7 separate regions of the Homo sapiens genome follow, and all the other regions are linked to region 1. Evidence: promoter capture Hi-C in 16 types of primary human blood cells and fetal thymus (Javierre and others, 2016). All regions are on one chromosome and are shown on one strand. Each heading gives the region's core, a stretch centred on a gene start or on the middle of the fragment in contact. The rest is flanking DNA. Distances are from core to core; before and after follow the strand shown. Region 1 holds the start of SMNDC1 (survival motor neuron domain containing 1). Region 2 overlaps PDCD4 (programmed cell death 4). Region 3 overlaps SHOC2 (SHOC2 leucine rich repeat scaffold protein). Region 4 has its middle 37 kb from the start of MIR548E. Region 5 overlaps SHOC2 (SHOC2 leucine rich repeat scaffold protein). Region 6 overlaps SHOC2 (SHOC2 leucine rich repeat scaffold protein). Region 7 overlaps SHOC2 (SHOC2 leucine rich repeat scaffold protein).

Region 1 (3,971 bases), core at 970-3,469:
CCTTCTCAGCCTTCCAAGTAGCTGGGTGCCATCATGCCATACTTTAATTTTCTTTAGTAGAAAGGAAATAGCTGTATATTCTGATGACAATTTGGAGCCTTTACATTTTATTTATTTACTGTCTTTCAATAAAATAAATATCACGTTTCAAAACTAAAGGTTTAAGATACTTTTTTTTAAATAAACATGATTAAGTTTGAATGCAAATGTTTTAAGAAAAATCAGACACTGAAAGTAAATTTTGACACTTCAAAGGAAATAGTAATTCAGAAAGCCTATTTGAAGTATTGCTCTTAGTTTTGTCTGCTCCAGTTTTGTCTGGAGCAACACCGCATACAATTGTGAAAATTAAATGAACCTGTGTAAAGTGCTTAGAATGGTATCTGGCACATACAAACTGTTATTTCTTTGTGAAAATTAAAATTCAATATAGCTTTTCTTTATAAATGAATGTTGCATAGATAAAAACAATCCTAAAAACAATCCTGAAAAAATTATTAAGATGGTATAGAAATCTATGATGGAACTTATAATGAATATTTGCCTATTTTCTGATCTATGGGGTTCAGGAAAAGTTCTCATTTAAGAGATTTTTACACAATAAGGTTGACTTTATATTCAAGGAAGTTCCTCCTCGCATCGGTTCTTAAAACACACAATTACAATAACAGAAGTTCTCTAAAACTACATTTTATTTTAAACGAATATTTATTTAAAAGCACATGCTTTCTGTTTTGTCTGCCTTCTTAATTCTAGCTACACACTGCTGCCCTCTGCTGCAATTTCAATCTTTCACACTCACAAACCCGACCTAGTTTCCATCTATACAGGTTATCTGACTCACTGCAAGGGTTATGTGTGTGTGTGTAGAGAACAAAAGGGAAGGCTCCTTGAAAAGAAAACTAGGAACTAAAGATGTTGGCACAGTTCAAAAGAGCCCATCTGAGAAGTGGGCCTTTTTTTTTTTTTTTGAGACGGAGTTTCACTCTTGCTGCCCAGGCTGGAGTGCAATGGCACGATCTCGGCTCACCGCAACCGCCGCCTCCAGGTTCAAGCGATTCTCCTGCCTCAGCCACCCGAGCAGCTGGGATTACAGGAATGCACCAACATGCTCGGCTTTTTGTTGTTGTTGTTGTTGTTGGTTTTTTTTTTTTGTATTTTTAGTAGAGACGGGGTTTCTCCACGTGGTCGAGCTGGTCTCGAACTCCTGACCTCAGGTGATCCGCGAGAAGTGGGCCTTTTTATGGATCCAGCAACAAACTCCCAACCTCCCAGGAAAGGTTGCTTCCTGTCATCTATATAAAACTTTGTGTCTCAGGCCTTTATTGCTTTTTTAATTGAAATAAATTATATATATATGGTTTAAAAAAAAAAGAAAAGGAAAAAGGGTAAACAGCAAAGAGGGTAATCAATAAAACATTTGGCTTCCACTCCAAACCTCTGAACAGTTTTGTGTATCCGTCCAGAAAGCGTATATATTATTACAAACATACACAAGGGGCATTTCTTTTTGAACACAAATGTGAGTATTCCTACCACTCTTTACCATTCTAGACTAACTTGGACGTTGTTCCCTATCAGGCGAGATTAACCCAACTAAATTAAAACCAAGTAGGTTTTAACAAAACAGATTTTAAAGAAATCAATCTTCTCTCCAATAGGTTATTTCTGTCACGATTTAATTAGCTTTCTGTTACTACTAAGGCTTGTATCATATAAAGTAGTGGTTCTCAGGCTGGGCGCGGTGGCTCACGCCTGTAATCCTAGCATTTTGGGATGCCGATGCAGGAGGATAGCTTGAGCCCAGGAGCTGGAGACCAGCCAGGGCAACGTAAAGAGAGCCCCCACCAACACCCCCCGCCACCCACCACCACCGCCCCGGAAAAGCAGTGGTTCTCAAACGTCAGCGGACATTGGTATCATCTGGTGAGCTTATTAAAACAAGAGTCTCTGGATTCAGGAGGTCTGGGGTGGGGCTTGAGAATTTGCATTTCCAATAAATTCCAAGCCGGAACTCCAGGAAGATAACCTGCATTCCGCGCCTGGCGAAGCCCAGCTACGCCATTTCCTTCCTAGGCCCCGCCTACTTCGTGTCCCTGACAGCCAGGGACTGGCTAGAGGGCGCGCGGAGTCACGTGAGTCGAGCGACCTCGCGCGAGAGTTTGTATTTCTCGCGAGACTTCACCGTCTCTGTCTTTTCCTCCTTCCAGTGCCCGGCGTTCCTCCCTTCCCCCTCGCCGCCGACCGAGTTCTTCCTTTTCAGACCGGGTCGCCTTGCTGTCGTCGCGGTGATTTTCCTGCTACTGCTACTGCTGCTGCTGCCACCGCCACTACCACTGGGCTCATTTGCCCCGACCCCTTCCCGCCGCCCCGCCCCCAGCCCCACACAAGGTAACAACCCCCCTGAGGGAGAGAGTAAGGCCTGGCCGGGCCCGGGTCCCTCCCGAGGTGAAGCGGAGGCCCAAGGCTGAGGAGCCCGCCTCGCCGGAGACGCCCAGGCGCTGGCCCTGGATCCCGGAGCCACGGCCGTCTCTCAGCCAGAGCTGAGCCTCGGCGGCCCGGCCGGCGCTGGCCTCCGTGCGGCGGCGGCAAACACGGCCCGCAGGGGACCGGGTCGGGTGGGGCTGGGCGCCGCGCGGCTCCCTGTGGAGCCTGCCTGTTGGAGCGCGGCGGGGCTCCGGCGGTGGTCTTGGAGCTGGCGTGTGGATTTCCACGTCCGAATGATCGAGTTGTGGCGGGCTTTGAGGTGCTGCGTGGCGGGGAGGAGAGCAGCCTGGGTCGCTGTAACTCTTAGGGGGCCTTTGCAGGCTCCCAGCCTTTGGTTGGACGGGAATTTTACGAAGGAGAAGGGTCCTCGGAAACGTGGTACATTTGCTTATAAACCATCAAAAAAGGTTAATTGGTATCTTATTTTCAGGAAAATGACTGAGCTGGATTTGGCGAAAGGCACATTCGTTAGAATGCCTAAATGGGAGAGTACCTGTGCTGTTCTTTTTGCTGAAGATAATGCACCGATAAATATTTAAGCGACTGGGCGAAAGATTTTTGTTTTGGAGAGGCACTTTTAAATACACTCTTAATTGAATAGTTCAAGTAAAGATCGTAGTTTGTGTAGTTAATTTAAAAACGCACTTGTTTGGCTTTGGAAGCATACTGTAGTGCTTAAAAATAAGTATTTGGATTGTTTTTGAAAGTTTCGACTTTTCCAACAGAGTAGTGCTTTTTAAAAAGATAACACTGATTATTGAGCCGAATTCAGCACCTACCCTGTGGATAGGAGTTAAAAGAAAATTAGAAATTTCTTTGTATCTGTATGCTTTTTTAAAGTATGGAATGTATCTCAAGTTTATAATCCTCAGAATCTGTTGCCTTTAAGTTTGTGGTTTAGCTGAAGTCTAAACTGAGAGTAAAGGTAATGGTGGTAAATTAAGCTGCAGTGTTAGAAGGAGTTAGAGGCAAAAACTGGTAATTCAGGCAGACAGGGGAGTTAGTTTTTTATGCCTTGATTTTTGGTTTAGTTTTCATGGTCTAACCCTTTTTATTTTCCCTAGATGTCAGAGGATTTAGCAAAGCAGCTGGCAAGCTACAAAGCTCAGCTCCAGCAAGTTGAAGCTGCATTATCTGGAAATGGAGAAAATGAAGATTTGCTAAAATTGAAGAAAGATTTACAAGTAAGTATGGGTAGACAATTGTACTTTTTCTCTGTTTTTCAAATTATTGCTTGAATCCCTAAGTACCCAAAGCGCCTTTTGAGGGGTTACACCCCACCCTATGTATATATGTAAATTCTGTAGGTACCATTGCTTGTAGAAGTAGGGTTGCTTCCCCAGTTCTCAGGTTTCTGTACATCAGAGTGAAATATTGTTCTTTGTTATATAAATCTTGTGTGCTTACATAATTTTTAAAAACTAAAGTTGATAGAAATTTCCAAGTCTGTCAGATTTTCAAGACGAGAGGTACATGTAACTTCA
Region 2 (3,671 bases), core at 918-3,417, 570 kb before region 1:
GGCTACTGAATTAGCTACCACTGGGCCACAGTTTTGTTCATTATTGTTAACGCAAATCAGAGCTGAATCACTCAAATCATTTTCTATATGCCTAAAGATAATTATAACATGTCAGGTCTATGTGCATGGGCTTTAATATGTTTTAAGACATGTTGAAACCAAAAATTTTCACCAACCTATAAAAAGCATACATGTGTTTAAATCTTTACAATTCTTGACATACTTAGGAAGGTAGGAATGTTTTGTTTTAAACAAAATCATCAATTAGAGCCAAATTATTTCACTAGTCTCATAAGTAGTCTCCCTGCCTCCAGTCTTCAAACTATACTGAATGAAGACTGATTTTCTCAAGCATGCCCTCACTGAAGATCCTTTAAAAGTAGTCCCATTATGTCACAAAAAATGTAAACTTTTTTTTTTTTTTTTTTGAGACAGCGTGTCGCTCTGTCACCCAGGCTGGAGTGCAGTGGTGCAATCTCAGCTCACTGCAAGCTCTGCCTCCCGGGTTCACGCCATTCTCCTGCCCCAGCTGGGACTACAGATGCCTGCCACTACGCCTGGCTAATTTTTTTGTGTTTTTAGTACAGATGGGGTCACCGTGTTAGCCAGGATGGTCTTGATCTCCTGACCTCGTGATCCACCTACGTCGGCCTCCCAAAGTGCTGGGATTACAGGCGTGAGCCACCGCACCCAGCCAAAATGTAAACTCTTTACCTTGTAACTTAAGGTCCTTTATGATCTTGCCCCTGCTTACCTCACCAGAATCACTGCTAACTACTCCCACACTCAAATTGTCAGAGCTTAAGTTAGATATCATAGGGAAGAGATGGGAGGGATTCATTTGGCAGAAGAATACTGAGTATATTACAAAAAGAGAAAGTATAAAGTAGGAAACCGCTAAGAAAATGCTTCAGTAATTCAGTCACAAGCTAACTGGTAAAGAGCAAGGGTAGTAACTGTGGGATAAATAATAATGTTACACTTTTAAAGAAAATAATGAAGGACTTTTAAGCAGAATGTATCTAGGATTAAAGAGAAGTCAAACAATGCCTTAAAAGTTTTCAAACTGGTAAGAAGCCGGTGTTAGGATGGTGTGTTTGGGACATCATCATAACCATCAGTAGTAATTATAGTCTTAGTGGAAGTAGTCGTAGTACTGTTTCTTTCATCATTACCATTACTATTGTCATCTATTAGATACCAGGTTCCACACTACCTGGTACCTATTAGATTCCACACTACCTGGTACCTATTAGCTAAGGCACTTTACATATGTGGTCTATAAGCTTCAAGAGCTCTAGAAAGAAACTGTTTATCCTCATTTTACAGAAGGAATGTGTTTCACAAGAAGTTACATATCTAGAAAGGATTATGGCTAGAATTCAAACCCACATTTTTAATCCCATATAACTACAGAAAATACAAAACTAGAATACAGCAGAGTATTGACAGCTAAAGAGACGAACAAGGGCGTGAATGTAAAGAGAGATAAACAAAAATGATTAAGTGGAAGGGGACAGAAAGATCAGGATCACATAAATTAGATGACATTTTCGTGTAAGAGTGGATGGTTGAGAAAAACATTAAACATCTACCTGTAACATAGTGCTTTCATCATTGTGCCATTAAGGTGAACCACAAAACTGGTCCAGAAGACACAGGAGTCAGAACTATAATAAAATGTCTTAAACTGTCCCTTGGAGTATTCAATTTAAATACATCTATTTCCCATAATCGAGTTTTCTTTTCTTCAACAATTTTAACATCCTTTCAAGTATGTTTGTGTCTCTGCAGCAGTAAACATTCTCTCAGTATAATTTATATATTTGACCTTATCATTTTTAACCCATGTTTGTATTAATTGCTTTATATTTTGTTACTCATACTCACCTAACTGTTGGAGTTCCATAACCCCTATTGAGCTGACTTTAAGAAAACCAAAATTAAAATGATAAGCTGAGTACAGAATGTGATTGACTTCAAAATTGTTTCCTACTGTGTACTAATTCCCTCTTTCTGAATTCTGATATCTCAATAGTAACCACTCCAATTGTATATGACCACAGCACCAGAAAATCACATTTTCAATTACTGGTGTCCAATGAGTGGCATAATTAGAATAACATTACCACACTTTCATGTATTACATACCTAGTATGTGCTTCACAGACTTAACACACATATACAATATCTCACTAAATCCTAATTATAAATCTATACAGAGGGTATTTATATCCCAATTTTATACATGAAAAAACTGAAGGTCAGAATAACCTACTTCCTCCAAGTAAAAGAGTAAGAGTGTGACTTGGACTATTTGCTATGTGAAGAATTTACTACAAAGAGGGTCTATCTTAGGCCTATTCAAATATTGAAGAACAAGTCTTTTATTTTAAAGCAGTGCTGGACACAAGCACCAAGAACAGGGTTAGAACTAGGTCTTATTGTAGTTAGGAAACAAAAAGTACACATTTTAAAGCTGTGTTTCTATTTCTAATAGAAATAGAATGCAAGCCATATAAGAAATTTTAAATTTTCCAGTAGCCACATTAAAAAGTAAAAACAGGTGAAATTAATTTAAATATATTTTATTTAATCTAATATAACCATATCATCTCAACATGCAAGCAATATAACAAATTATTGAGATAGTTGACCTTCATCTCAACTCAGAGTAGCCACATTTCAAGTACTCAACAAACACATGTGGCTAAGCACAGTGGTGCACACGCCTGTAATCCAGCTACTGAGGAGGCTGAAGAGGGAGGATCACTTGAGCCCAGGAGTAATAACCACATGTAGCTAGTGGTCACCATACTGGACAGTGCAGAAAAGAAGCAATTACCTATATGTAAAATATATTCTAAACTGTATTACCATCCCCATCTCAATTAAGTAGGTACATATTATCCATTTATAACCCTAAAGCATACTCATACAGCTATTGTATACAGCAGCACAGAAATGATCATTAATTACATAAATTTTTTTCAATTTTTTACCATACTTTAAAAAGATCTGTAAATAAACAATGGTAAAGAAGCTTCAAATTCAACATGTTTGTTCAGATCAAAGAAAACTATGTACATTGTAAACAATAGTGAGTTAAGTCACTGAGGAAAGAAAGATGTAGTATTTAGTTACGAAATACACTTAAAATGACAGAAAATAGCTTTCAATATTAATAAAATTATAAGACAAAGAATTATCCAAAGTATACCAATATGAACTGTTCTCACTATTCAGATATTACACAATTCTAATTAACTTTTTGGGAGATTATTTTTAAAACTATAAATACATTTTAAATTATCTTGAGTTACTCACATTTGGTCATCTATTCCACAAAACTGTTCATTTTTATGATAATAACATGCTATTGAAGCACCATGGAGAATTAGGGAAAATACCCTAGGTAATTTAGAATATAAAAATTATTTGTTAGGAAAGATACCAAAGATACCAGTAAGTTTATATTACAGAAATCACTAACTAGCCCATGTGAAAATAAGCAGGCTCACTATTCTTCTCTATTCTGTACTATATAACAGAGAATAGGAATATGTGGAATGTGAAAGGATAGGCAGAAAAATAGGACATGTAATGAATTTCCATGAAAATAAAAATCACAAACTTGACTTTAAAAATAATATAGCCTGTTTTCTTACAGC
Region 3 (3,703 bases), core at 834-3,333, 620 kb before region 1:
AAGCCTGACACAATCTCACATCATTTTGCGGTTTCAATATGCTTTGTTCTCGTCCCAAATACTCATATTCTGTTGTACTACTATAAGCTATTATATAACAGGAGGTGGGGAAAATTTAAAAAATACTGCAGCACTACCAGCCATTTAGCATACTGAGTTCCCACAGTTGCTTAGTGGGTGTTCTGAAACTAGGCCATTTTCTAGTATTAAGAATTTCAAATCACTACTTCCAAAGTACAGAAATAAATGTCTTCAAGATTAAATCATAAAACCTTACTATTTTAAGCTGCCTAGTATATAAGCATCCCATTTCTATGAGTTTAGAGTTGCAATTAGCACATGGTAGATAAACCAATATTTGTTTTAGGAGCAAAATAACTAGCTCTCCTACCTATCCTTATAGTCACAGAATTCAAGAGATCACAATATTAAAATAAAATGTAATTTATTTGAACCAGAACTAAAGCTCTGGTGAAATTTTGAATTCTATATCGCAGATATATACAAACCCAAACTGAATTAAATATAATCTATTTCAGGTCACCCAATCTGTCAGACACCACATACTTTTAGCAAAGAACTATGACTTTCAACCTAATTTTCCCAGTCCGGTTAACCAGGCAATGCCAAGGAATTAAGCTTATTTTCTTTAACAGAATAAAAGTTGAAGAAATACTTAGTTATTTTGTCTTATCAATGCAACAGGTTGTTTTCATTAAAAGTGGGTCAAGAAAAAAATGTTGCTACTCAATTTTACATATTTCATAGCAAAGTAAACAAAGAAACACATAGTAATTATAGTATCTACCTCTACAAATTACAAGGTAGTATATTATACTGCACTGATCAGTATTTTCAGATAATTATTTGTTTCAACTTAAATTTTGTTCAATAAATACTGTTACCTACTATATTTTACCTCATTAAGCAAACCTTCCCAGTAAGAAAAGCTTAACACAGTAAAAGTTTTAAATTGTATCATTTTGAATGGAATTTTTCCAAAATACATGAGGTTATTAACAAAATTTACTAATATCCAATAACCTCTTCTTCATGATCCTAGATCATTATTTTCTATACTATTCTATGTATAAAACAAAGTGTCTTGAAAGATTCTACGCATGTTTGTCATAACATTAAGTTGCTATAAACTGCTGTTTTTACAAAATGTCTTGCATCTGGCTTTTCGAGTTTTTCTTCTGCTCTTATTTTCAACTCTCTTATCCCTCTAGGAGTAATTTCAGTCCTTTTTACATTTGGTTACCAAACTTTTAAAAATTGTGCACTACGTGAGAATAAAAATGCCTGAATTAAGGCTTGAAGGACTCTAAAAACAGAAAATGTGTGTTTAAAAACAAGAACATTATGACATGTCTTTGTCCTTCCTTTGGGCCTGTTCAGTTTGTTTTGGAGCTGTAGACTATTCATCTAAAACTAATTTTCCACTTGGAACCTACAAAGTCTAGACATTGTATACTGGTGGAACAGTAAATAAGACAGACATACTCAATGCTCATCTTAAGGCTTACAGTCTAGCAATAAAGACAGACATCAAATATATCATTACAAAAATAGTGTTATAAAAAAGGAAGTAAAAGCACTAGGATACCTTCAAACAGAAGAACCTAACTAGGGATGAAAGGAAGGTCTCCCAAAGTCTGGGATACAAAATTGAGGCCTGAAGGGTGATTAGAGTTTAGCTACATGAAGAGTGCATGAGGTAGTAACCAAGCCGATGACACCAGATAGTTTTAGTTTCCTATAAGTAATCTCAAGATAAATGAGGTGTAACAACATGTTTAAGGCAATTGCTAAAATATTAATATTTTTAAATTTCTCAGATTTCTATAATAAAAATAATTAGGAGCATCAAGAAATGCAAATGAGTGTTTTAACACAGAAAACTATGGCACTCTGCAGGGAATGGAGTTTGGGATATCAAAATTAGGCCTCACATGATACGCCCTGGAAGAAATATTAAATTATATTGCATGAAAGGTCCGGCGTGGTGGTTCACACTTGTAATTCCAGCACTTTGGGAGGCCAAGGCAGGTGGATTGTTTGAGCTCAGGAGTTTGAGACCAGCCTGGGCAACACGGCAAAAGCTAGTCTCTACAAAAAATAGAAAAATTAGCCAGGCATGGTGGTACACACCTGTAGTCCAGTTACACGAGAGGTTAAAGTGGGAGGATCACTTGAGCCCAGGGAGGTCAGGGCTGCAATGAGCCCCATGATTGTGCCACTGCACTCTAGTCTGGGTGACAGAGCGAGACCCTGTCTTGAAAACAAAAACAAAACCAAAACAAAAACAAAAAAAAGCGTGAAAAAGAGACCCTGTCTTAAAAACAAAAAAACCCAAAAAATACTGCGTGAAAAATTAGTCAATTCTCAAGTTCAGAGAACTTTTAAATCATACAAGACAATTACAAAGCCTGCTTCTAGGGTATAACTGTTGACCATACAGTCTGACTTACCTAAAGAGTGGCACTGTCAAGTAAGTATGGAAAGTGTTTTTTAAAGTGTACTCAAAAAAGAGTACATTTTAAATGATTATACAAAAAAAAAACTTTACCATGAATTCTAAGAAAGTTCATAAATGTTACTCTTAACATGATACATAAATGCTGAGAAAAGACATTTAAGTATTGCTTTTTATTTTAATTTTTTTTTTTTTTTTTTTTTTGAGACAGAGTCTCACTCTGTCGCCTAGGCTGGAGTGCAGTAGCATGTTCTCGGCTTACCGCAACCTCCACCTCCCGGGTTCAAGAGATTCTCCTGCCTCAGCCTCCCGAGTAGCTGGGATTAAAGGTGCCTGCCACCACGCCCAGCTAATTTTTTGTATTTTTAGTAGAGACGGGGTTTCGCTACATTGGCCAGGCTGGTCTCAAACTCCTGACCTCAAGCGATCTGCCCGCCTCAGCTTCTCAAAGTGCAGGGATTATAGGCGTGAGCCACCACGCCCGGCCTTAAGTATGATTTTGAAACATTATCCAAGTTCTAAGCCTGGGAATTATTCCCCACGTTACACTGATATATTCTCCTTGTATTTAATTAAAATAGTAATGAAAAATAGGTGAAAATTTTTCCCTTTTCACAGGTGTTGAAGGTGAAGTTTTAAATAATAGTTTGGTCAACATTAATACAGATCTGCAGTTCAAAGCCCAAATAAAATTAGGAACACAAGAAATATTATTATTAATAATAATACAAGCTTTAATCGAAGTCTACCATATGACCTAATATTATTACTAGAATCCAAACTGTTATTCTTCTCTAACTGCCCAAGTGGACCTAAACATATCTAACCTTTGTGCTTTTATTACCCTCCCCTATCCTACTTATTCCTCAAGAGTTCATTCCAGTCCTGTCCTCCAGTAGGCATTGCCAGTTATACGTGCAGTGTGAGTCTTAACTCATCTGAGTTTGCCAGTGTATATACTGCTGTTAAAAGCATGTGTCACATTGTTTAACAATTAACTATTGACTTGTCCGGTTCATGCAACAAACTCTGAACTTACTGAAAGAAGGAAACATATTTATCTCTGTATCCACAGAGCCTGGGACACACATGGCATTCAGCAGAAGTTCCATGACATTGGTGAATGTGAAACTGTAGTTACTAAGAAATATTTATAGAACAAAATTGAAAAGTTAAAGACTATTTGCAAGACTGAGAAAGTACTGAAAGCAGGAAGAAGTGTTA
Region 4 (3,593 bases), core at 770-3,269, 720 kb before region 1:
ATTAATATTGTTAAAATGTCCATACTACTCAAAGTGATCTATACATTCAATGCAATCACTATTAAAATACCAATGACATTCTTCACAGAAATAGGGAAAAATTCCTAAAATTTGTATGGAATCATAAAAAACAAACAGAATAGCCAAAGCAACCCTGAGCAAAAAGAACAAACCTAGAGACATCACAATATCTGAACTCAAAATATACTACCAAAACAGCATGGTACTGGCATAAAAACAGACACATAGACCAATGGAACAGCATAGAGAACTCAGAAATAAATCCTTACATTTACAGTCAACTCATTTTTGACAAAGGCACCAACATATATTGAAGAAATGATAGTCTCTTCAATAAATCATGCTGGGAAAATGATATCCATTTGCAGAATGAAATAGACTTATCTCTCTCACTGTATACAAAAATCAACTCAACATGGATTAAAGACGTAAATATATGACCTGCAGCTACTAGAAGAAAACATTGGGAAAACACTTCAGGCCATTGATCTGGGCAAAGATTTCATAAGGCCTCAAAAGCACAGGCAACCAAAGCAAAAACTGACAAATGGGATTACCTCAAGCTAAAAAGCTTCTGCACAGCCATGGAAACAATCGACAAAGTGAAGAGATAACCTAGAGAATGAGAGAAAATATTTGCAAACTATTAATCCAACAGAGGATTAATAACCGGGATATATAAGGAACTCAAACAACTCAATAGCAAATACTAATACTCCAATTTAAAAATGGGCAAAAGATCTTAATAGACATTTCTCAAAAGAAGACATACAAATGGCCAACAGATATGTGAAAAAATGAGGTAAAATAACTTGCCTCAGGTCACAGATCTAGTAGTGGCAGAGCTACATTTATTCACTTCATTCAGGATAAAAGCTAAAATCCTTAGCGTGACACACAAAGCCTCATGATCTGCTTTTCTCTTCCCCATCTCTCTGACTTTATCTCTACTCTTTACCAACTTGCTTTTCCTCACTCCAGCCACACAGGCCTCATTTTTCCTTAAAAATCAGCTGTTTTACCCAAAATGCCCTTCCCTCAGATATAGCTAAACTTCATCTAAGACTCAAATGACACTTTCTTAGCCAGACTTACCCAGACCACCCTATCTGAAATAGCAACATCATTTTTTTTCAAATAAACGTTTTAAGAGCAATTTTACGTTCACAGCAAAATTGAGCAAAGTACAGAGAGTTCCCATATATATCTCTCCACACACACCCACAGCCTCCCCAGCCAATGTCCCTGTGTGGTACATTTGTTACAGTTACTAAAGATTGATACATATTATGACCCAAAGTCCATAGTTTACATAGCGTTCACTCTTGGTGGTGTACATTCTACAGGTTTTGCCAAACGTGTAATGACATTATCTCCCATAATATCATACCGAATTCTTTCACCACCTAAAAATCCTCTGTGCTCTACATACTCGTTCCTCCCTTCCTCCAAACTCTCGTCAACCACTGATCTTTTTATTGTCACTAAAGATATGCCTTTCCCAGAATATAATTTAGTTAGAATCATACAGTATAAAGTCTTTTCAGATTGGCTTCTTCACTTAGCAATAAGGATTTCGGTTCTCCAGGTCTTTTTATGGCTTGATAACTTATTTATTTAGGGATTTCCCAGACACCTCAAGCTCTCTATGTGATACTGAGAGGCAGCCAGAGTGCATCAAAATGGTAAAGGGATACAAGGGGTCTGGTTGTGATACCTACAGTATTTGCCACTCCTCCTCCTATAGAATAGAGTAATATCCCATTGTATGAATGTGCCACAGTTTATCCATTCACTTATTGAAAGACATCTTCATTGCTTGCAAGTTAGGCAATTATGAGTAAAGCTGCTGTATGCATTTAATTGCAGGGTTCTGTGCAGATGTTTTAATTCATTTGGGTAAATACTAAAAAGCATGATCATATGGTAAGAGTATGTTTAGTTTTGTAAGATATTGCCAAATTGTCTTCCAAAGTGACTGTACCATTTTACATTTTCACCAGAAGTAAATTGTATTTCCAGTTATTCCACATTCTTGCCAGCATTGGTGCTGTTGGTGTTTTGGATTTTAGCTATTCTAATGGTTGTGCAGTGATATCTCATTGTTTTAATTTGCAATTCCCTAACTAATAGAGGATGCTGACCATCTTTTAATGAGCCTACTTACTATCTGTATATCTTCTTGGCGAGGTGTCTGTTTAGATCTTTTGCTCATTTTTTAATTGGGTTGTTCCATTTCTTATGCTGAGTTTTAAGAGCTGTTTGTCTATTTTGGGTGAGTCCTTTATCAGGTATGTCTTTAGCAAATATTTTCTCCCAGTCTGTTGTTCTCATTCTCTCGATAGTGTCTTCTGAAGAACACAAAAATTTAATTTTAATAAAATCCAATGATGTCTTTCACAAATCGTGGTTTGGTGTTGTATCTAAAAAGTCACTGCTAGACCTAAAGGCATCTAGACTTTCTCCTAGGTTTCCTTCTAGGAGTTTTATAGTTTTCCATGTTACATTTAGGTATGGCCAATTTTGAGTTACTTTCTGTGAAAAGTTTAAGGCCTAGATTTGCTTATATTTGCATATGGATCCCCACTTGTTCCAGCACTGTACGTTGAAAAGAACTATACTTACTCCACTGAATTGCCTTTGCTTCCTTGTCAAAAATGTTGACAATATTTGTGTGGGTCTCTTTTTGGGGACTCTATAGTGTTACTTTGATCTATTTGTAATACCAGTCTTAATTACAGTAGCTTTATAGTAAGTCTTGAAGTTGGGTGGTGTCAGACCTCTTGACTCTTTTCTTCTCTTTAAATATTTCACTGGCTATTCTGAATCTTTTGCCTCTCCATATAGATTTCAGAATCAGTTTGTCAATATCCACAAAACAACTTTCTGGGATTTTAATTGAGATTGTGTTGAATTTATAGATCAAGTTGTGAAGAACGGATTTCTTGACAATATCAAGTCTTCCAATTCATGAACATGGAATCTCTCTTCATTTATTCTTATTTCTATCATTAGAGATCTGTATTTTTCCTCATGTGTGTTTTATATTTTGTTTCATTGATAACAAAGTATTTCATTTTGGGAGAGAGGTACTAATGTAAATGGTATTATGTTTTTAATTTCAAATTCCAATTATTCTTTGTTCTGTATCGGAAAGCAATTTACTTTTGTATATAAACCTTGTATTATGCAACCTTGCTATAATCACTTGCTATCATCAGTTGTTTTTGCCATTTTCTTTGGATTTTCCATAGACAATCATGTCATCTGCAAACAAAGAGTTTTATTCCTTCCTTCCCAGTCTGTATGACTTTTACTTCCTTTCCTTGTCTTATTACATTAGCTATCACTTCCAGTAAGATAATGAAAAGAAACTGTGAGGGAGAACATCCTTCCCTTGTTCTTGGTCTTCGTAGGAAAGCTTCAAGTTTTTTTTACCAGTAAATATAATGTTAGCTGTGGGTTTCAGGTAGATGTTCTTTATCAAGTTAAGTAAGTTCTACTCTGTTCCTAGTTTGCTCAAGAGTTGTAACGAAGGAGTGCTAGATTTCGTCAAATGCTTTTTCTGCATC
Region 5 (3,885 bases), core at 547-3,046, 690 kb before region 1:
TGATAGAAATATTTTTATGCTGAGTAAACACAGATATACCTCATTCTATTTAACCATTGTAAAGTGTTTCATGTCATGTGTACCATTATCTCTCCAATCATTGCTCAACTGATGGCATTTAATTTTTTAAAAAAGAATTATGTAATGAATACCCCTAGACATGTATCTTTGTGCACATGTGAAAATATTTATGTGTCAGATGATATAGATATTTAAAATTTTAATAAATAACAAAAGGCTATATCATTTTTATTTCCACTAAGAGTGAAGAATAGCCCCCATTTACTCACATCCTTGTAAAATGGGGAGGGATGGTATCAACATTTTATCCCTTGCCTATTCCATTCCTATGGCCACTGCTACAGCAAGGCCAGCAGAAGTGAACATTTTCCTCCAAGTAGTGATCATGTCTGATTACAAAGAACTTCAAAACCTTCTGATAAAATTTTAATTTCCTGTATGCAGCTGCAGATAAAATGAGGCAGCTAACCTTTAAAAAAAAAAATGGAAGTAAACAAGACCATCCCTTTTTCTCCTTTACATCACTGCTTTCCCTATGGAAGAAAGTTGATCCATTGTAACAAAATGGCTGAATCTTTCACCAAGGGGTCTTTGAAGTCTGCCATAAGAGGGGAGAATTTATTAACAGAGAGAAGTCTCCATGATCTTACTCCATCAACTGACATGCCTCATTCAATAACCCTTTACAGTATCATGGTAGATAAATACAATATTTTAAATGTTTTTTATTCTCACTGAAAACTAAAAAACTTTCTGTGGTAACAAAGGTTAGTAGGGGAACCAAATTCTAAATGTTTGTCAACTCAAAAGCCTAGTAAATAGAACCAGATTCTTGAAATTTCTCATCCAAAACCAAATAACTCTTAAGTTTCTCACTTTTAAAACCAGAGTAGGTTCCTAGAATTTAAAAATTACAAAATAAAAATAATGTAGCCAAATTGCTACATGACATTATCTAGTACCAAAACCAGTAGTAATTTAAATTAAAAGGTACCTCCACCTTTCTTGGATCTAAATTTTTTGCTTTTTGCTGGGGCGGAAGGGGTTGAATTTCTAACAATGTAATCTATGAGAATAGGCTGTTCTGATGAAGAAATCTCACATTTGCAAAGGCCCTATCACTTGAGACCACTGGCAAATTCAAAGAGTCATCCACATTTTGCCAAAGTCCATTACTCTCAGCTAAATAAAAAAGGTTAAAAAAATTAAGGATGAAATATCAAAACTCTTTTACGCCAGAAGAAAACATCAGAAGTCTGGCATTTATTGTGATTCACCCTCTGCAGTGGTTTCAGCTCTAACCCCTCTCAATGAGTGGTTTTAACCACAAACTAAACTGCAACCTAGAAATCAACACAAGCTTGCTTTAATGTTGAGCCATCTTGACTAAGAAATAAAATCATTGTTGCTGAGCTCCTGTATATAAACGTAGGCTGATCACTGCCAATCACTGGCATTTAGCTTTCAAGTGCTTAACTTTGTCTACAAATTGTTCTGTGCTCCACTTTGACAGCTTGCTTTCTCTTACGCTGTCAGATTTTTAAAATATGGTGAAATCAAATGGCTATGAATTAAAATTAGATTCTTTCAATTTCAGCAAATATAACCAGCAACTTTAGTTTAATTTAGTATAACTTTCGAGTAAGACTAATTTAAATGATCATAATCTTATTTTAACAAAGTAGCAAAAAAAATAGTAGGAAAGACTCAGGGTTGGAAGGATGAAATGTCAAAGGTACCATTATTTTTTCAGAAACATTAAACTGAAAGCAAACTGAAAAGTAAGCAACACAGAAATTCCTGAATGTTAAAAACCCAAAGAACACCACCATTAAAAAGAAAACTAGTAAAGTTGTTATACATACGCTGCACTGTAATTACCTAAAACCCAATTACTAAAATGACTAAAATGCTACTTGTTGATATAACCATAATTAATGTAACATTTCTTCAGAGCCCAGTGCAACAAAAAGGCTTCTGTGAATTGTTCTGCACTCCAGCCTTGAAGGCAAGGTTTTGTGGCACAGTTCTCTCCTAATCTCATTTTGAGAAGAAATACAAAGTAAAGTATTTTTTCCTACTTCGGACTGTTTCTTCCCTGGATTACATAAAACTACCAGAGGTACCAGAAGGCTTTAAAAAACATCAGGTTCATACTTTAAAACAAAATAACTGTTGGAATAAAGCTTAATATTTTCTTCTGTTCATAGCTAATTTCTGAATGAGAAAATATTCATATAAAATAATACTTTTTTTATTCAACAAGGCAGACTAACAGTTAAATCAGAGAAACTATAAATATGTATTTAAGCACTCTCTTACTTAACTGCAACTTGGTAATCCCCAACCCATTTCCTTCTGTCTCTTCCTCACATCCTATGAGTTGTCAGCGATACTAGCTTCTCAGCCTGGAAGTAAATGGCAGTAATTATCACAGGGGAGTGATAGTTACTCCAGGAATGTTCATGTTAAATAAAGAAAAAAGTAAAAAACATTCTGGTCTACTTATAAGAAAAAAGAAAAAAAGGAAAAGGCAAGTAAATACAGTGATTTCTGGGAAGTGATTTTAAGACAATACAAGATTTGATTTTCAGTTACAAGTTTAGGGCAAGATTCTTTAGTCCAAGGAAAAGAGAGTGGGCAGCTGCTTCCAGACTAGCATCAACTCTGCAGAACAGGTGTTGGGCTTTCTGTTTGTTTTTCATTTTAAGTTATACTTTCTCAGAACTAGAGTAGGATTTAAAAAAGGAGAAGTATCAGGAGAACCATAATTCAATTAAGTTTCCACTACTTAGGGTAAATTCTTCATCTTCAATAAATGAGAGTGAAAATCTCAAAGGTCAATTAAAACTGTTGAAATTTTTAACAGACCAAGACCCAAACGTCAAAGTTTCCCACCAAACCTCAATCTTCTGCTACATCATCAAAATACTAGGACTGGAAAGGATGGAGAAAGATAAAGTAATTATTTTAATAAACATGGTAATCGATAAATGACTACAATATCATAAAAAGTTTCAATAAATATTACTAATTTACTTTGCCATTTACTCAGAGTAACAGCTGTACTATACTTGGTGACAACCATCAAAGCATATAAAAGTAAATGCAATGTTATTTAAAATTTTCTTGTTGTTAATGTTTCAGTTCTCATTGATTTCCAATTTGTAATACTGTAATCTGGCCCTATAGAATAAGCTAGAGGTGAGGCATATGTGTTATTCTAGGATAACATCTAAACTACAAGAGATTAATAATAAAATCAAATGTTTTCATATTAGTAAACACACTTAAAACACAGAAGAATTACCTCCAATAGGACACTAATCCTACTTACTAGAAGACTGTATCATATATCACCACCTATGCTTTCTCTGTTTACCAGGATTATTCATTTCAGTACTTTAATCGCATGCCCCTTTGACTGTTATTTAACAAGTTTGAGATACAGACACATATATAAAAATATTAAATAATAAAATATTGTTAGACTATTTGAGACAGAGAAGAAGGCCGAATGAAAATCATGCTATATATATCTATCTGATCAGTTGAAGGAGCAGGCAAAGTTACACAGATATTTAGGAGAAAAGAGTTCTAAACAGAGAGATGGGAAGCACAAAGATCTCAAGGCTAGAATTTACCTGATATGTTCAAGAAACAATAAAATGTCTAGCATGTTTAATATCCTAAGATATACATAGTGACTAAACATCAATGAGAGGGATAAGAAAATCACTTGATAACATTTCAAGTATCTTAAATTTTGGTTCTCCTGTCTGATTTGCAGTAGAGTAAAGCAACATTTTGTTGTGTTTTTTTTTGTTTTTTGTTTTTGTTTTTTTTGAGCAGTAGCAAGATTTA
Region 6 (3,745 bases), core at 185-2,684, 700 kb before region 1:
CTGTCTAAAATTCCAGGTGGTCATGTATATTACATAAAATAATGGAAATGAAAACACCTGGAAAATGTTAAGTATTCCCAAATGTTAATATTGGTTAAATATTAATATTAATTCTAAAATCTCATAAATGTTCTTTTGGCATAAAACATTACTAATTCAAGCCTGTGTAATTTTAAATTTAGAAGGAATATAAAATAACTTCTAAAATGAGGTTATACATAAAACCTATTGGAAATGTAAGTATTCCAAAACATTCTCAAATACAGTACTAATTTTAAAACCAATCCTAACAGCCTTTAGGAAACCTAACCAAAACCAATCAACAATCAACCATCGGTGCTCTATTAAAAAAAAAAATCTTAAGCCTGATATAACCTCAGTTTAAAAAACAATAGATTTGTCATATTTATCTGAAATATTGCTTGAATGCACAAGAGCAAATTATTAGTACAGAGTCAAGCATTCACAGGGTTCATACCAATTTCTTCAGGAAGGTGAGTAAGTAGGTTCTCTCCAAGGCCCAGATGTGTGAGATTAGTAAGGTGACCAATGCCTCTGGGAAGAGTGGTCAACTGGTTGTTTGTCAAGACTAATTTCTAAAAGATTTACAAAATAAAAGAGAGTTACAAATATATTTCCTACATTTAATGTAAACTGAAAATAATATGTCTAAACAATAAAATAAATTAACAGGGAAACCAGATTGGATAGAATGAGAATCACTTACATTACATATTTTTCTTTCACAAAATACCATTTGTTAGGAAAACAAAGCCAGGTTATATGAACATAAAACTCAGCCCTAATACTAGAATAGGAAAGTCTATCTGATCCAAGAATTACATCAAAATCTTAAGAGAAATGTGGAATTTGGAACAGATTCCAAAAACTTTATAAAACTACAAAATCAGCATAATGTTTACCTGTAAATCCTTAAGATATGCAATTTCATTTGGCAAGGATTCCAATTTGTTCTCTTCTAGATCCAACTCTCTTAACTTCCTAAGGTTTCCAAGACCATGGGGAAGCTTCTTTAGAAGATTGTTTGATAAGATAAGAACCTAATGAGAAATTATTGATAATGTTTAGGAAATCATGAAATGAAATTATATACTGTCATTGTGTGGCTTAAAATCTATTAAGCAATGCTAATTTTCCAAACAGTGAATATTAAGGGTGATGTTCAATTATATAACATATAAAATATTTAACTTACTTTTCTAAAAAAACACCATAGTTATTAGAAAAGAGATTTTATTTGATTATATCAAAACTAATGAAAACAAAAGAAGCAATTTAATTTTAATGAAATTTCAAAAAAATGCTCAATAGTTACAAATGTTTATCTAATAGGAAACTATTTATTCAAAATCCCTTACAAACCATTACTTAAGGAAGGTAAAAGCTACCTTCTAAACTTGCTATATCAATCCACTCTATTTATTATCTGTGGTGTTCTTATTACACTGAAAGCATCCTGGAAGATACTGAAGGGGGTTAAAATGGCAGAGAAGATAGCCTTTGTTCCGATAAAGTTACAAACTAGCAGAAAGGTAAGGAGACAATACTGGGTTGGGAGAAAGAGCAATAGGTAAAACAGATACGTAAGGTTCTGGGTAAGTTTTTATGTTCATTTATTTTCCCTAATGTTACACCACCCATAATAAATATATACAGTAAGATGGAGAAAATAATTACAGCAGTCACCACTTGATTTTACTATTTGCAAGGCACTGTACTGAATGCATTATGTGCATTATTGCATTTAATCCTAACTACAACTCTACAAGGTAGATACTCTTATTATCCCCATTTCACAGCTTAAGAAACTGAAGCTTGGGCAAGTTAAGTACATAAATATACAGAGATAATTACACTCAGCTTTGTTTGACTTCAAAGCCCATGTTTTTAGCCATTAAACCATACTATTTCACCTTATTAAATAATTTAAAAATTAGACCTTTAAAAAACATGGATATGAAGGAAATTTTAAAAAGCAATATATTTACTATTAGTAAGCATTTTCATCAAAGGGATGAAAACTCTAGGAACTCAGAAGCAGGAGAAATCATCCTTAACTGAAGAGGTGAAAATAAGATGGATCTTTAATTATGGAAAAACATACTAAAAGAAAAAAACTAAGGGGATGAGAAGAGGGCATTCTAGATACAGAAAACAATAGGACTAAAATTAGAGGGCTAGAAATAGGCATACCAGATTTACAACAAAGACAATAATCAATGAGTAAATAAAATAGCAGGTCGGTAATTAGGATGAAAAAGTATGATAAAGCATTCTAAATGACAGTCTGAGAATCGATAATTATTTTGGTAGACAATGGTGTAGTTTTTAAACAGAATAAAGAAAAAAATTGTTCTAAAAGATGCTTTTACAGAACTTTTCTTTTAGAGATATTAATACTTTATGGCACTCAAAGACACCAACTTGTAGTAGGCAAGAGAAATTCAAAAGCACTGAATCTAGACTACCTAAGTCAACACTTCATTATCCTATTAGGGTTGTATGTTTAAGTGAGTTCTAACATTTCTAATTATGACATTCACCCAAATAGAAATTGCTTATTTAAATTTGAAATTTTTAAATGAGATACGTATGGAAGGTTCTGAAGTTCTCTAATTGCTCATTTATACTAACCTCAAGAGAAACGAGACCAGACACATCCTCAGGGATCTTTGTGAGCTGATTAGTGGCTAAATTCAATTCTACCATACTGGTCCAAGTTCCAAAATCCAAGGGAAGTGATGTTAACTGATTGTCCTGGCAAAGACAAAAAGAAGCATCCAAGGTAGAATCACAAAAACAAAGTTCTATATATACCTGTCACTTCGGAAAGAGAATTCTTAATTAAACAAAATCTTATTCCCCTTTTTGATATTTAAATATAGAAAGAAAAAAAATCAGCAACAGAAAACTCTAAGCCTCCAAAGTTTTTTATACAGTAATGAGGCTTTTATTTGGGAGTTAAACTGGAAGTTTGTTCCTTATGTGATTATAATGGAAATAGAAAAACACAGTATACAGAGAAACACTGGAGATTTCAAAGATCCTATGATAAATATGATGTTTTTACAATTTCACAATATGCAGAAATCACTGAATAAAATATAAATGCTCAAATAAAGATATGAAAACAATAGAAGAAGACGCATCTAATGACAGCCCATAAGGAAACCAGAATGAGCTCAGGAATTCTTAAGGTGCTGAGCAGTAAAGTAGGGGAGGAAAAACAGTCTTAAAAAGACAGCAAATTAAATCATTAAAACACTAATCAGGTATTTACCATTTCACTTTAAAAATCCATAAGAAAAAAATGGTAAAATATATTCATCACCAAAACAGAGGAAACAGTAAATATGGTCTTAATTTGGTTTAAAAATTAGACAATGCTGTCCACAGAAAAAAAGTATGCCACTTTTATTCACTTATAAAGTATACTTTCATCAATAACAACTCGTACCACAATGTTATGTGTTAGGGGTATTGGTATTGGGAGAGGATAATCAACACCCCATCCAGCTCAATACCAACAATGTATGTCAGTATGTTAACAGTGATGCTACCTCTCAGTGGCAGTATTATTTTATATCCTTTATGTTAATCTGTATCTTTAAAATTTGCGGCCGGGCGTGGTGGCTCACGCCTGTAATCCCAGCACTTTGGGAGGCCGAGGCGGGCGGATCACGAGGTCAGGAGATCGAGACCATCCCGGCTAAAACGGTGAAAC
Region 7 (3,598 bases), core at 181-2,680, 640 kb before region 1:
ATATAAAAGAGAAATGTCTTCCTATTCTTTTTACCCTGCTTTATTTTTCTTCACAACATTTACTACCTCATAAAATATATTTACTTATTTATTTTGTCTATCATCTCCCTCTCCTCTATGAATGTGAAAACTGTGAAAGCAGGGGCTTCTGACTATTTGGTTTGCAGCTGTATATTCAGAGCCTAGAACCTGGCCAATACTAGATGCCCAAGAAATGGTTACTACATGAATAAAACAACAAATTAATGTATCTAGACATAATTTTTTAGAATAAATTTCTTCTTTAAGAAATATAAATGATCAGCTTCAAAATATGTTATCTCAGTAAAACTAAAATGAAAAATAAAGAAGGCATGGTATAGAATTGTCATTCCCATACCCATCAGAAGTTACCACTACAATAATAAGATATCAAGGATTTCACTGAGTGATATCATGATTATACTATTCAAACTGAAGGGATTTTTATTTGATTAAAAAAATCCTACTCAGGGCCTGAGTAGGATGAAAAGGACAATCCCACAAAGATGCAGTTCTGTGTAGGGTATCAGTTAGAACAGGAAGAGATGAACACTGACATATGATGGTAACCCACAAGATGTTTAAGAGGCCAATTGGGATAGGGTGGGTATGCTCATAGGAAGATAGCTCAACACAGAGAATCAGAACCTGATTGGGGGTGAGAAGAACATCCACAGGTAGTGATGAACCAGGGTGTGATACTGGAGTCTATGAGAGTGAGGAAGATTTCTACATAATAGGCTTGATTGATGGTTAAGGAGGAGGCTGCGCAACATGAACAGTTAAGATTTCAAGCAAGGTGAAAAGGTATTCACACACAGGGTAAGCCTAGCATGGAGAGTCAGAGTCTGAGTGGGGTTGGGGTGGAGATAGGGAGAGTCAAACATGGAGGTCTGTCAGTGTGGGATGGCAAAGCCCAAGTGGAGGCGACATCACAGAAAACAGCAGAGTAAGCATCTCTAAAAACTGTCTCTTCCACAAAAGCACAAAGAAAACTGGAAAATAGAATCAACTTTATCAGAACTCTAAAAATTAATAAAAAGCTTGCATCCAAGTTGCATTTATTTTTAAAAAGCTCAATCTCATTAAGAATGATGAGCTTTCTATTTTAACTTGCCCTAGTCCCATCCCTTGCTCTCCAGATCCACAGTAGTCTTGAAGAAACGACAGCTCACATTCCCAGTGCACTCTAGAAGCTACGTTAAAAAGCAGCAAGAGTTGTAGCTCATTCAAAGCTTCATTCTCCCCAAATTATTGCTTGAGCAGTCTTGTTTCCAGGAAGACCCTATTTGCAATGCTGACCGTATGTGACCTGACTCAGAGCTTGCACAATGCAAAACGCCTTTTCCCCAGGGAGATATTCATTGAAAAAAATTACAGGAAAGTGTTTTATACCATATCTACTTGAGGCAGTGAATAACAGTTGGAGCAACAGACTTAAATCTTAAAAGGAAAAGCTGAGAATGAAATACCCGTAACAGACTTTGAAAAGCTCTGACATATTACTGGGAATCTAGAAGGTCATACACATGCCTAAGGCTGTGTACATGCTCAAGGAAGACCTGAAAAGGGCCTAAGCTTTGAAGCTCTGCACAAGCAGGACATAAGGACAAGGCAGAGTTGCCAACTACCCAGCTGAGTGTTGAAGGCATGCCCCAAGACACACACACACAAAATCCTCTGGCAAAGACTAGGAGATTTACTGGTTCCAGGCATGTAAAGAAATCTTTGTCCAGTCATTAGCAACAACTAAGCTAACCAACTAGAGACTGAATTATCTACTGAGGTAGTCACACACATCAAATAGAGTTTGCAGAATTAATTCACAAAAGAAATTAAATGAAGAAACAACTACAAGTACTCCAACAAACCCTGAAGAGAGGGCAAAATGTGATTTTCATAGTTGTCAAATTATTTTATTATAAGTCTCCACTATTTGGACATTTTTATATTATTTAGAATGTCCACATTATTTCAAAGATCATTTATTATTTAAAATGTCCAAATGTAATTTTCAACAAAAAATTATAAGATATGCAAAGAAACAAGAAAATATGAACCATACACAGGAAGAAAAGCAAATAACAGAAACTGTCCCTGAGGAAATCCAGATATTGGACTTATTAAACACTTCTAAGTCAGCTTTTTTTTTTTTTTTTGGCTCAAAGATACATACTTTTCATTTGTGATCTGGATTATCTTCATTTTCCACTGTGGGCAGAAGGAGCACACATAAAGGTAGAATCCATAAATTTTCACTGGATAATGGTAAAATGGTAAGAGGGCCTGGATAAGTACCAACTTCAAAATAAAAAGCAGAAAACAGTATCACAACAGAATATCCTAAGAATGGAGATAACAATATACTATGGAACAAGGAGCTTATGAACTTTGTAACATGTCACATTTCAGATTTCATAATAAATTTTCCAAGGTATGTTTTTGTCATTCTCAGTTTTTCTGTAATAACAAAAAAGCAGGGAGATAATAGGCAGGTCTTCCTTTGAGACGAGCAAGAAAGAGGAGACTGGTGAGATCAAATCCAATCCACAGCCACTTGGGGCAAAGTTGGGGCAAAAGACGATCTGAAATGATAATATGTGGAAGAAGTGTGCTAAAAGAGTTGGTTGAAAGATTCTGGGTTGCCAAGAAGAAAAGGAGAATGCAGACTGTTAAAACTGATCCATAGAAGGCCAATGTGACTTTCCGTGACCAGAATGCTTAATTCCATTCCTACTGCCTCAAGATTAACTTCCTTGTTTAGATATAAGAAAATAGGTTCTCAATTTGACAAACACAAGTTACTCACTTAATATTTAACATGGTGAGACTACTTTTTGTTCTCTAGTGAGTTAGCAAGGTTTCAGTGTTCCAGCAGGACAACTCAGCCATTTATTATTGATCACGCCCTGGAGTTGAAGACACAGGCTCACAGAAGGTCATGATAGCCCATGTTCACTTAGGTAAAAGTTGTAAATGAAAATTTAATATCAAATCTCCTGTAAGTTAGCTATTTTTAAAATGTTCAATGAACTAAAGGAAAACATGCCTGTAGAACTAAAGGAAGGTATAAGGACAATGTCTCACCAAATAGGGAATATCAATACAGAGATATAAGTTGTTTTTAAAAGAACCAAATAACCTGGAGTTGAAAGTGCAATCATGGAAATGCAAACCTCACTAGAAGGGTTCAACAGCAGATATGAGCAGGAAGAAGAAAGAATCAGCAAAGTTGAAGATAGGTCAATTTATATTATCCAGTATGAGGAACAGAAAAAAAAAAAAAGAATAAAGAAAAAGAAACGGAGCCTCAGAGACCTGTGGAATATCATGAAGTGAACTAACATACTCATAATGGGAGTCCCAGAAGGAAAGAAGGAAAAGAAATAATGGTTGAAAACATCTCAATTCTGAAGAAAAGCATCAATCTATACATCTAAGAAGCTTAACAAACTCCGAGGAAGATAAATTCAAAGAGAATCCACATGAAGGCAGATGATTATCAAACTGCTGACAGACAGAAAGAATTCTTCATCTTAGAAAACTGAGGATGAAAAAACTCAAAACAAAGGCAACA

The links. The method cuts DNA at HindIII sites, captures the fragments that hold promoters and counts their contacts. A CHiCAGO score of 5 or more calls a contact.
Region 2: a fragment that was not itself captured here is called in contact with the fragment with the promoter of SMNDC1 in region 1 in 17 of 17 cell types (fetal thymus, M0 macrophages, M2 macrophages and 14 more); the score reaches 20.7 in fetal thymus.
Region 3: a fragment that was not itself captured here is called in contact with the fragment with the promoter of SMNDC1 in region 1 in 12 of 17 cell types (fetal thymus, monocytes, neutrophils and 9 more); the score reaches 11.8 in fetal thymus.
Region 4: a fragment that was not itself captured here is called in contact with the fragment with the promoter of SMNDC1 in region 1 in 1 of 17 cell types (M0 macrophages); the score reaches 5.2 in M0 macrophages.
Region 5: a fragment that was not itself captured here is called in contact with the fragment with the promoter of SMNDC1 in region 1 in 10 of 17 cell types (activated CD4 T cells, total CD8 T cells, total CD4 T cells and 7 more); the score reaches 9.4 in activated CD4 T cells.
Region 6: a fragment that was not itself captured here is called in contact with the fragment with the promoter of SMNDC1 in region 1 in 6 of 17 cell types (total CD4 T cells, M2 macrophages, activated CD4 T cells and 3 more); the score reaches 8.0 in total CD4 T cells.
Region 7: a contact is called between a fragment that was not itself captured here and the fragment with the promoter of SMNDC1 in region 1, in 1 of 17 cell types (total B cells). The highest score is 5.1, in total B cells.

The regions. Positions count from the first base shown.
Region 1 is chr10:110,303,168-110,307,138 of GRCh38, reverse strand. SMNDC1 (survival motor neuron domain containing 1) reads left to right here and starts at 2,219. Exons shown (of 6, transcript NM_005871.4): 1 at 2,219-2,391; 2 at 3,552-3,671. The coding sequence starts at 3,552. RefSeq lists a silencer at 2,388-2,707. The HindIII fragment of the contact is 6,895 bases long and covers 1-3,971 here.
Region 2 is chr10:110,876,410-110,880,080 of GRCh38, reverse strand. All of the region lies in intron 2 of PDCD4 (programmed cell death 4), which reads right to left. Among named protein-coding and RNA genes, the nearest start is that of PDCD4, 6.3 kb to the right of the region's middle. The HindIII fragment of the contact is 1,757 bases long and covers 1,289-3,045 here.
Region 3 is chr10:110,924,051-110,927,753 of GRCh38, reverse strand. All of the region lies in intron 1 of SHOC2 (SHOC2 leucine rich repeat scaffold protein), which reads right to left. Among named protein-coding and RNA genes, the nearest start is that of SHOC2, 6.3 kb to the right of the region's middle. The HindIII fragment of the contact is 2,261 bases long and covers 953-3,213 here.
Region 4 is chr10:111,023,886-111,027,478 of GRCh38, reverse strand. No RefSeq gene overlaps it. Among named protein-coding and RNA genes, the nearest start is that of MIR548E, 37 kb to the right of the region's middle. The HindIII fragment of the contact is 2,850 bases long and covers 595-3,444 here.
Region 5 is chr10:110,990,731-110,994,615 of GRCh38, reverse strand. All of the region lies in intron 3 of SHOC2 (SHOC2 leucine rich repeat scaffold protein), which reads right to left. Among named protein-coding and RNA genes, the nearest start is that of MIR548E, 3.7 kb to the right of the region's middle. The HindIII fragment of the contact is 826 bases long and covers 1,384-2,209 here.
Region 6 is chr10:111,006,564-111,010,308 of GRCh38, reverse strand. SHOC2 (SHOC2 leucine rich repeat scaffold protein) reads right to left here. Exons shown (of 9, transcript NM_007373.4): 6 at 2,656-2,778; 7 at 924-1,061; 8 at 479-596. Among named protein-coding and RNA genes, the nearest start is that of MIR548E, 20 kb to the right of the region's middle. The HindIII fragment of the contact is 807 bases long and covers 1,031-1,837 here.
Region 7 is chr10:110,942,967-110,946,564 of GRCh38, reverse strand. The region is part of intron 1 of SHOC2 (SHOC2 leucine rich repeat scaffold protein); the gene reads right to left. Among named protein-coding and RNA genes, the nearest start is that of SHOC2, 25 kb to the right of the region's middle. The HindIII fragment of the contact is 343 bases long and covers 1,259-1,601 here.